Linked DNA regions of Homo sapiens: regions 1 and 2 are each linked to region 3. Evidence: promoter capture Hi-C in 16 types of primary human blood cells and fetal thymus (Javierre and others, 2016). All regions are on one chromosome and are shown on one strand. The core of a region is centred on a gene start or on the middle of the fragment in contact, and the rest is flanking DNA. Distances in the headings are between cores, read along the strand shown.

Region 1 (3,114 bases), core at 261-2,760, 1.4 Mb after region 3:
GATTAACATTTCCTGAATGTTTTTTTTTAGAAAAATGTTAAAACAGCAGTTATAATCTATATAAGTTTTAATATTATGCTCTTATTGCATACATCACATGAGAGCTAAAGTGGCACTGCAAAGGAAAAGATGTACCTTTACAATGGAGCTCTCTGGCAGCACTACTTTAATCAAATGATCAAAGTAGGTGCAACTATTAAAACCTGACACTGCATGCTTCCTGATGAGTTCAAATATGAAGTACCCAGTATCACCTATGATATGTTCTTACCAAAAAAAAAAAAAAAAGGTTCAACCTAAATCTAATGAAGCGTCCAGACCTAACCTACAGTTTATAGGAAATGTGTGGACTAGAGGAATAAGTTAGCAATACCAAAAAAAGCAAGCAGACAAATCTGGAATGTGGAATATTCAACAGGACAAACAGCCTGGACTCTCCAAGAATCAATGTAATGTGGCAAGAAAAAATAGAGGAACAATTCTAGAAAAAAACATGAGGAAAGAGACTCCAACAGTGAATTATAGAGAGCACCAAGTTGTTTCTTATAATGATGCAAAGGTGATTTATTTTTAGGAATTCCATTAATATAATCCACCTATTAATAGAGATAGGAAGAAAAATTAAATACTCCTATCTTCTGATGCCATACCAAACTCAATAACCATTAATGTTAAAAACAAAGAGGAAACTGGTAAATACTTATTTAACATGATTTTATGCCAACACCAAGTATTCATGAGAATACAGAGCACTGAACATTCTTTCATTAGTCAAAGCATTTTAACTTATACAACCTTACTGGAAAACAGTTTAGATTACCCCCTAAAGTTGAACACACACATATCCTGTAACCTACCAATTCCATTCCTACACATATCCAACAGAGAGCTTGCGCAAGTGCATCAAAATGTGTGTGCAAGGCTTTTAATAGCCAAATACAGAAAACAATCCAAATGCCCATCACCAGTGATGTAGTATACTCATGTAATAAAAATGAACTACAGGTACAGGCAACAAGGATGAATTCCATAAACATAATATGAAATAAAAGAAGCCAGATACCAAAGTATACATATCATATGACTCAATTTAAACAAAATTCAAAAGCCGGCAAAATCATGACAGAATTGGAAGTTACGGTAACTTCCTTTGGCACAAAGGGAGAGAACAGTGATCAGGAGAGAGCACAAGAGGATCCCCGGGTATGCTGGCAATGTTCTACTTAATGTTCTGTTTCTTGACCCAGTGACAGTTTATTGGGTTTTCACACTTGGCAATAATTCATTAAGCAATACATTTATGTTTTGTATGTATTTCCAACACTTCAATAAAAAAGAATTATAATTTTCAAACCAGAAAGAAAGTACAAAGTAATCTCTAAATATCTAAAAAAAATTGAAAACATATGTAACTATATATCATATTGGTGACAAAAGTACAAAGTGAAGAATTATATAAATTGCTTTTAAAACTCAGCGTTTTGACTGTACATATCATCCAGTGGGTTATATCCCAAGGGAAAAAAAGTACTTAAAATGCACTTTGTAGTTTTGTTGTTAGTAACAATACGTGTACTATTTTTAAACTATTCTAAACTCTAAGCTAAAAAAAAAGATAATTATGTTAATGTTATTAATGGCCAAGAGTGTTTTTTTTTGAGACAGAGTCTTGCTCTGTTGCCTAGGCTGGAGCGCAGTGGTCCGATCCCAGCAGCCTCCGCCTCCTGGGTTCAAGCAATTCTCATGCCCCAGCCTCCCAAGGAGCCAGGATTACAGGCGTGCATCACTATGCTCGGCTAATTTTTGTATTTTTAGTAGAGATGGGGTTTTGCCATGTTGGCCAAGCTGGTCTCGAACGCCTGAACTCAAGTGATCCACCCACCTCAGCTCCCAAAGTGCTGGTATTACAGGCATGAGCCACCGCCCCAGCCAGGAATTTTAGCTTATGAGAAGAAAAATAAAAATTGTAAATCAAAAGGTAAAAACGAATTTTAAATCTGAATTGGAGCCAGGCGTGGTGGCTCACCGCTATAATCCCAGAACTTTGGGAGGCCAAGGTGGGTGGATCACCTGAGGTCAGGAGTTTGAGACCAGCCTGGCCAACATGGTGAAACCCCATCTCTACTAAAAATACAAAATTAGTCGGGCATGATGGTGCATGCCTGTAATCTCAGCTACTCAAGAGGCTAAGGCAGGAGAATCGCTTGAACCCGGGAGGCAGAGGTTGCGGTGAGCCGAGATCGCGCCGTCGCACTCCAGCCTGGGCAACAAGAGCAAAACTCTGTCTCAATAAAAAAATCTGAATTGGAAAAGCAGAATAAACTGTGAATTTTTCTCTTTTTAAGAAACAATAGTACCTAGATCTAACCTCTGAAAAGCTCTACCAGGAAAAAAAAAAAAAAAAAAAAACCTAGAGAACCCAGATTGAGTTCTCTAACTACATCTTCTAACAAAGTAAACAAGATTCCTTATAGAAGTGGTTTCAAAACTAGGGGTTGACTATTCCCGAAACAAGCCTATGAAAGCTCACTGCCGAGAAGCCAGCAAGCTGTCAGAGACAGGAGTAGGCTCATGTCAAAGGGAGAAAGGAGCAAACTTGAAAGAGCTCCCACTGGATGGAGATGAAACAATGTAAGCATCAAAAAGACTAATGACTGCAAAGGACTAGACGATATACATATACATATATACACCTGTAAGTTCTTAACAATATAAAATCAATCTCACTAGACACGGAGATTTCTCAGGTACCAACTCTTTATTCTGAAAACTGACCTATGAAGAGGAACAATCAAGCATTTATCCTGCCTTGCAAAACAAACTCTATTTTAAGGATAACCAAATAGTTGATCAGGGAAAGATCTTCTGTAAGAAAACTTCCAACTACAAATAGAAAGGAAATTACAGAATAAGAAAATTATCATTTTGCAACTCTAAAGGATTACTACATGTAGACAATAATCGATTGATGTTAAAACTGTTAAAAAAAAAAAAAAAAAAAAAGAGTGAGGAGTTCCTGACTCACAGATAAGGGTATGAAGAAAAAAAAAGAGTGATGGGAATATTTATAATAAGGCTGACAACATCTGAGTCTAGTGATCAACTTTAACCCCT
Region 2 (2,731 bases), core at 89-2,588, 1.4 Mb after region 3:
AGAATCACTTGAGCCCAGGAGTTCAAAACCAGCCTGTGCAACATAGTGAGAGACCTTGTCTCTAAGAAAATAAAAAAACAATAACAGTTAATAAAGTTTCCAGGAGTACCTTAGATAATCCCAGAATTGTATTTGTAATATTAGGAGAAGGGCTATTTTTAATATTCTAAAATTTATCATTGGAATGCCCATAAAAATTGCCTATGAGTAGAGTCATCATTACATCAGAATAATTTATGATAATTATTTAGGACTCTGCTTTTGATAAATATGTGCTCTGTAACTACTTAATAAAGTCATGAAAAATAATTTTTAAAATATAAACGTTACTTACATATCCCAGTTTGGAGCTATCCGCAAATGCTGGATTAGCAATTGGAACTAGAATAAGAAATTTAAGTGTAAAGAAAAGAAAAAATTAAAATGTTTAAGTCACAAAACACAGAAAATGACAGCAAAGTTAACAGCTCAGGACTTTATACAAAGGAAATTTACACTGTACACCAAAAATGGTATTTACTAAATTACAAAGGCACTAGTATACGAATAAGATTAAAATAAAAACTAAGAACAGTATTTTTAGTTTCTCCTACCACTTTATATTCGCTAAATGACTGCCCTTACCTGATAGACACACACCAACTATCAAAAAAAGTAACCTTAATACTATCCTGGAAGCAAATGAACTTAAATTTTTTCAAGCCAATTCCCAAATGAGGGACCACTATAGAAAACACCTCCGAACCACTGTAATTCCTCTCTGAGGATGACTTCAAAAACTCTGCCAATCGATGCTTAAACATGAGCCAAAAGAAACAAAAACCAAAAAAACTCTGACAAATTCCCTTGAGCTTACCAACAGACCAAGACAGTCCAAAAAGTAATATTCCCAGGGGAAGAGGAAAAAAATGTCTTAGAGGATTGATGTCTTCCTTCAATGTCACATCAGAAACCCTGCAGTTTACCAGATGACCCAGTAAAGGAACCGACACCCCCGACCCATTCCACATGGGGAGTTCATTCCAGTCACTAATGAGAAGGTAAAAGGTCTGTCTTATGATATCACTTTTTTTTTATTTTTATTTTTTGAGATGGAGTTTCACTTTTTTTGCCCAGGCTGGAGTGCTGTGGTGCGATCTCAGCTCACTGCAACCTCTGCCTCCCGGGTTCAAGTGATTCTCCTGCCTCAGCCTCCCAAGTAGCTGGGATTACAGGAGTGCACTGCCACACCCAGCTAATTTTGTACTTTTAGTAGAGACAGGGTTTCACCATGTTGGCCAGGCTGGTTTCGAACTCCTGACCTCAGGTGATCCACCCACCTTGGCCTCCCAAAGTGCTGGGATTACAGGCATGAGCCACTACGCCCAGCCTGATTTCAGATTTTTTTTTAAATCTTACAAGTTAACATAAAATGGAAACCTGAGTATTACAAACAAACAAACAAAATAAGTTCAAAATCACCATCTACTGTCATCTACTTTAGGACCTAAGGATTAAGCAGAGGATAATTTTCATAAACCTAAAATCGTGATAAATCAGTTTTTTTGTGGTAGTTAAATCAAATTGTTATTTTAGCACTTGTTTGAGCCTCTATAAAAACACAAATTAAAATGCATAAGGCATGTCACACAGGCTTACCAGGGGGGAATGGAGGAGCCTGGTGGCCACCTCCTGGTGACCAGCCACCACGCACAAATAGCAAAGGAGATTCAGCTTGGCTCGGGAGGCCCCCATGCTCTTCTCAGTGGAGTCGATCTGCGAGCACACTTGTTGCAAAAAGTCATTCCAATCTTGATCTTTCAGAAATAATAACTTATCCACTGCGATGGAAAGAAAATAATAAAAGTACATATGATGAGAAAAAGAACTGCTGGAAACATTACATAAGAAATAAACACAGAATTACGACAGCTAAGATGAGGACAAACATTACACTGTCAAAACCAAAAATACTCCAAAGATGACACTATTTTTATTCGTCCTTCTATATTCCTAATCTCTTTATCTATCCACGGAAACTTTTTAACCACTTCAATGGAAAACTATACTTTCAAATAAAGCAGATGTCTAAAGCAGAACTGTCCCACAACCTACACTATAACAAAATGCAAAGTTCAATACAACTGGAGTAAAAGACAAAAGAGCCTTTGTATAAATAAATCAACTCTCAAATATTGAGAAAAGCACAAATCCTACAGTTCTTAAAAAGTTCCAATAAAATTATTGTAAAAAAAATAACGAGAATAACATGATAGCTAAAAATCACCTGAAATTCCTACCTCCAAATCCCTATACAAAAAAAAGGCAAAATCTAGGAAATGTGATACCCCCTAAAATTAACATATTTTTGGCTGATCTCTATCTTTAGACAAAATAAATTGTAAATATAATCTCCTAAATAACTCAAAGAAGAAAAGGGAAATAGTATTTCCAGGTGATAATTCTCTAGGTTTGCGTAAATAGTCCTACTTGGCACTGAAAGCACTATTAATAATACTTTGCTTCACTTGGCCTTTCAAAAACGTCCTTCTACACAGTTTCTTTTTTGTTTTTATCAGTAATTAAGTTGACCAATATAAACCCTTAGCTGGTTTATTTAAACCTAAATATATTTTAAATTTACTTCAAATCATAGATTCTACTCTAGCCACGATGAATAATTTTCCCCAAATCGAGTTTAACAGCTTAAAATATAATTTGTTAAACGAAAAAACCAATTTAAGGTATGTAA
Region 3 (2,891 bases), core at 1-2,500:
ACCTAAGTCACTTTAACACAGAGATACAGCTTCAATTTACAAGCAGCCAGTTGCAAAGCTTCAGAAAAGGTTTTCAAAAAAACAGGACAATGGGTCCACTCTGCAGTCTAGGCCTGATGTTGACCCTTTTTCACAGTCCTGCTTTGTTTTGAGGCTATTAAAACCCTGCTTCATTTAAGTTCCATCTAAACTTTACACTTCCTCAAAATCCTGTAACTTTATATTTTCCTTCCCCTGGTAAAATGTCCCATGGTGTCTCTGGTGTGCAATCTCCCTCATTAAAAAAGATCGATAGACCTGGTTTTGCTGACTACAGGTTTGTCCCTGGTGGTCTTAGGCTGACTGGGCTTGAACAGTCTTGCTCAGCTTCAGGGTTCCTAAGATTGCAAATTTCAAAAACTGATACAACAAACATTTTTTCACTCCTAAATACAAATGCACCTGTCCACGTTGCCAGGTAGTTATGCACATGGCTACCATGTCAATTTGGTCATAACTAGGGTTAGGTCACTTCTCTGGAAGGTTAGTTATTAAGAACAAGAAAGAAAGTCAGGGTTCTGCACAGCTTTTGGTTTGATTCTTGTACTGACTTATGTTTCTTTTTCTTTGGGGCTACAGGTAAATATTTTGTCTGCTAAACTGACGCCCCCATCGCCAGTGTCTGAACAAACAAAACTGAGACATATCTAGTCAGCTGAAGCTGACAAATACAGGGGCCAATCTGGTTACAGGCAGGCAGTCCTGGCCTCGTGACACCGCAGAGACTGTGGGACAAGTGGACGTGCTCCTACTGTCCCTCGCATCCCCCATCTGGGCCGCGGGACTAGTGCCCTCAGGTCTATGACCCACTGCAAGAACCCAAAGCTCGACGCCCGCCCAGCCCTTCACATCCGTCCCTTGCAACAAGCAAGAGAAGAGGGGCGCGGCTTCAGGGGACGGGCGACGGTTTACAGGACAGCTCGTACACAGTACCAGCTGACATCCCCTAAGCCTGAGTGTCTAGGCCCCTGCCTCCACATTTAAGAGCCGACTGCGCCCCTTGGTGATTGGACGTCCGGACGCACCTTGAGTAGAGGCCAAGCAAACTATCGAGCCCGTCCAAAACGCCATATTTGTAACTGACGTCATCCTCATGTTGCCTTTCCTCTCTGTGATTGAGGAACCAATCAGTTGGGTGTAGCAGACGGGGCGTGGCTCTTCAGGTAGAGGCCGAAGGGGCTGAGAGCGGTCCCAGGCGGCCATCTTGATTCCTGGCATCACTCTCAACGTGCCCTCCCTCTCCGTGATTGGACGAGCAGGGCGGGCCTTCCGGAGGCACACAGCCGACCAACCAGAGATCTGCGCGTGCTCGATCTGGTCATCTGTTTTCTGACATCTGGAGCCACTAGCAGTTATCCTGTTCATTCCTGGGCGCCTGCGACCTTCCGAAGGAAACAAGACTTGCTTGGGGAAAGTTGCCTTGCCAGTATAGTGGAGCTTGGTAGAAACTTAAAAACTGCCTGGGGCTGCCTGGGATGGGGATCTCGAGATGCTTGTGGGGAGCACATTTTAGGAAACAGGGGGCTCAAGCTGCATGAAATGCTGCGGGAAATAGGAATGAGAGACGCAGAATGGTCGGAGAAAAAAGCTAGGAAGGTGTTTGGGAGTAAGATTTTGGAGTGCCTTGAATGCCAGACTAGGGAGTTTGGACTATATCCTGTAAGATAGGGGATAAAAATCAACTTTAAACAGGAGTGATATAACAAGATAATGTACTTTAGAAAATAATTCTGTAACTGTAGGGGGAGTCCCAAAGTGTTTCTCAAATTGTGTTCGGGGAAGTTCAAAGTGTGTTTGAGAGCTTGTTTTTATATGCAGATTCTTGCCCCTCACCAGACCTGCAAATAAAGTTCTCTGGTTGTACAGCCAGGAAACTGCATTAAAAAAAAACTTTTTAGGTTAACATACATTTGGTGAGAAAACGCATAAACCATATGGATAGGGCTCTGAATTTTCACAAGCAAACACTTCAGCCAGGCGGGGTGGCCCGTGCCCCTAATCCCAGCTACTCGGGAGGCTTAGGCAGGAGAATGGCTTGAGGCCAGGAGTACCAGATCAGCCTGGGCAACATAGCAAGACCCGTCTCTAAAAAAATTTAAAACAAAAATAATAACACACTCCCGTAGTTAACACCAGATGAAGAAACAACATGGCCAGCAGCTCAGAAGCTCCCCTTTTCCCCTTTAGCCACTGCTGCCTGCACCAAAGGTAAATATGATCATTACTTATAAGAACTGTAGATTAGTTTTGCCTGTTTTGAATTTGATATAAATAAAAGCATACAGGATATATTGTGTCAGCTTATTTGTTAGTGTTATTTATGAAATTCATCCGCATTGTTCCATGTAGTTGCTGTAGACTCCGTTGCTATAGATTGTTATCACAATTTATCCAGTCTCTTGTTTATGGGCCTTTGGGTAATTTCCAGTTTGGAGATAGTAGCAAAAAAAATGCTAAAATGAACATTCTTCTTCATTCATATCTTTTGCTTTGTAAATTATAAAGCAAGACAACAAGACCTAAAGACTGATTCATTCACTACCTATTTATTGAGCCCCTTACCAGACTAAGGTGAGAAAATAAAACAGAAAAGACAGCAAAGGTCCTGCCCTCATGGAACTTATTCTAACTGGAACGAAACAACACCTACGTGGGCAGCAAAACAAGTCAAACAATTGCAATTGTGATAACTCTGAGGGAAACAAGGTGAGCTAGAAAAAGAAGGGTGGGGACTTAACCTTTTTTTATGTGGTAGCCTGGTTAACTCTCAGAAAAATATCTAGGAAAAAATACAAGAGATAAGTTGGCACTGCTACACGATGAGTATTAACAATGGGTAGACCATTCCTGGC

What was found. The method cuts DNA at HindIII sites, captures the fragments that hold promoters and counts their contacts. A CHiCAGO score of 5 or more calls a contact.
Region 1: a fragment that was not itself captured here is called in contact with the fragment with the promoter of ENTPD3-AS1 in region 3 in 13 of 17 cell types (M1 macrophages, fetal thymus, total CD4 T cells and 10 more); the score reaches 9.8 in M1 macrophages.
Region 2: a fragment that was not itself captured here is called in contact with the fragment with the promoter of ENTPD3-AS1 in region 3 in 3 of 17 cell types (total CD4 T cells, M2 macrophages and M1 macrophages); the score reaches 6.8 in total CD4 T cells.

The regions. Positions count from the first base shown.
Region 1 is chr3:41,875,694-41,878,807 of GRCh38, forward strand. The region is part of intron 17 of ULK4 (unc-51 like kinase 4); the gene reads right to left. Among named protein-coding and RNA genes, the nearest start is that of ULK4, 85 kb to the right of the region's middle. The HindIII fragment of the contact is 3,624 bases long and covers 1-3,114 here.
Region 2 is chr3:41,895,184-41,897,914 of GRCh38, forward strand. ULK4 (unc-51 like kinase 4) reads right to left here. Exons shown (of 37, transcript NM_017886.4): 15 at 1,639-1,820; 16 at 335-381. Among named protein-coding and RNA genes, the nearest start is that of ULK4, 66 kb to the right of the region's middle. The HindIII fragment of the contact is 3,983 bases long and covers 1-2,731 here.
Region 3 is chr3:40,452,058-40,454,948 of GRCh38, forward strand. ENTPD3-AS1 (ENTPD3, EIF1B and MYRIP antisense RNA 1) reads right to left here and starts at 1,251. Exons shown (of 4, transcript NR_040100.1): 1 at 1,065-1,251. RefSeq lists enhancers at 985-1,054, 1,075-1,144. The HindIII fragment of the contact is 7,917 bases long and covers 57-2,891 here.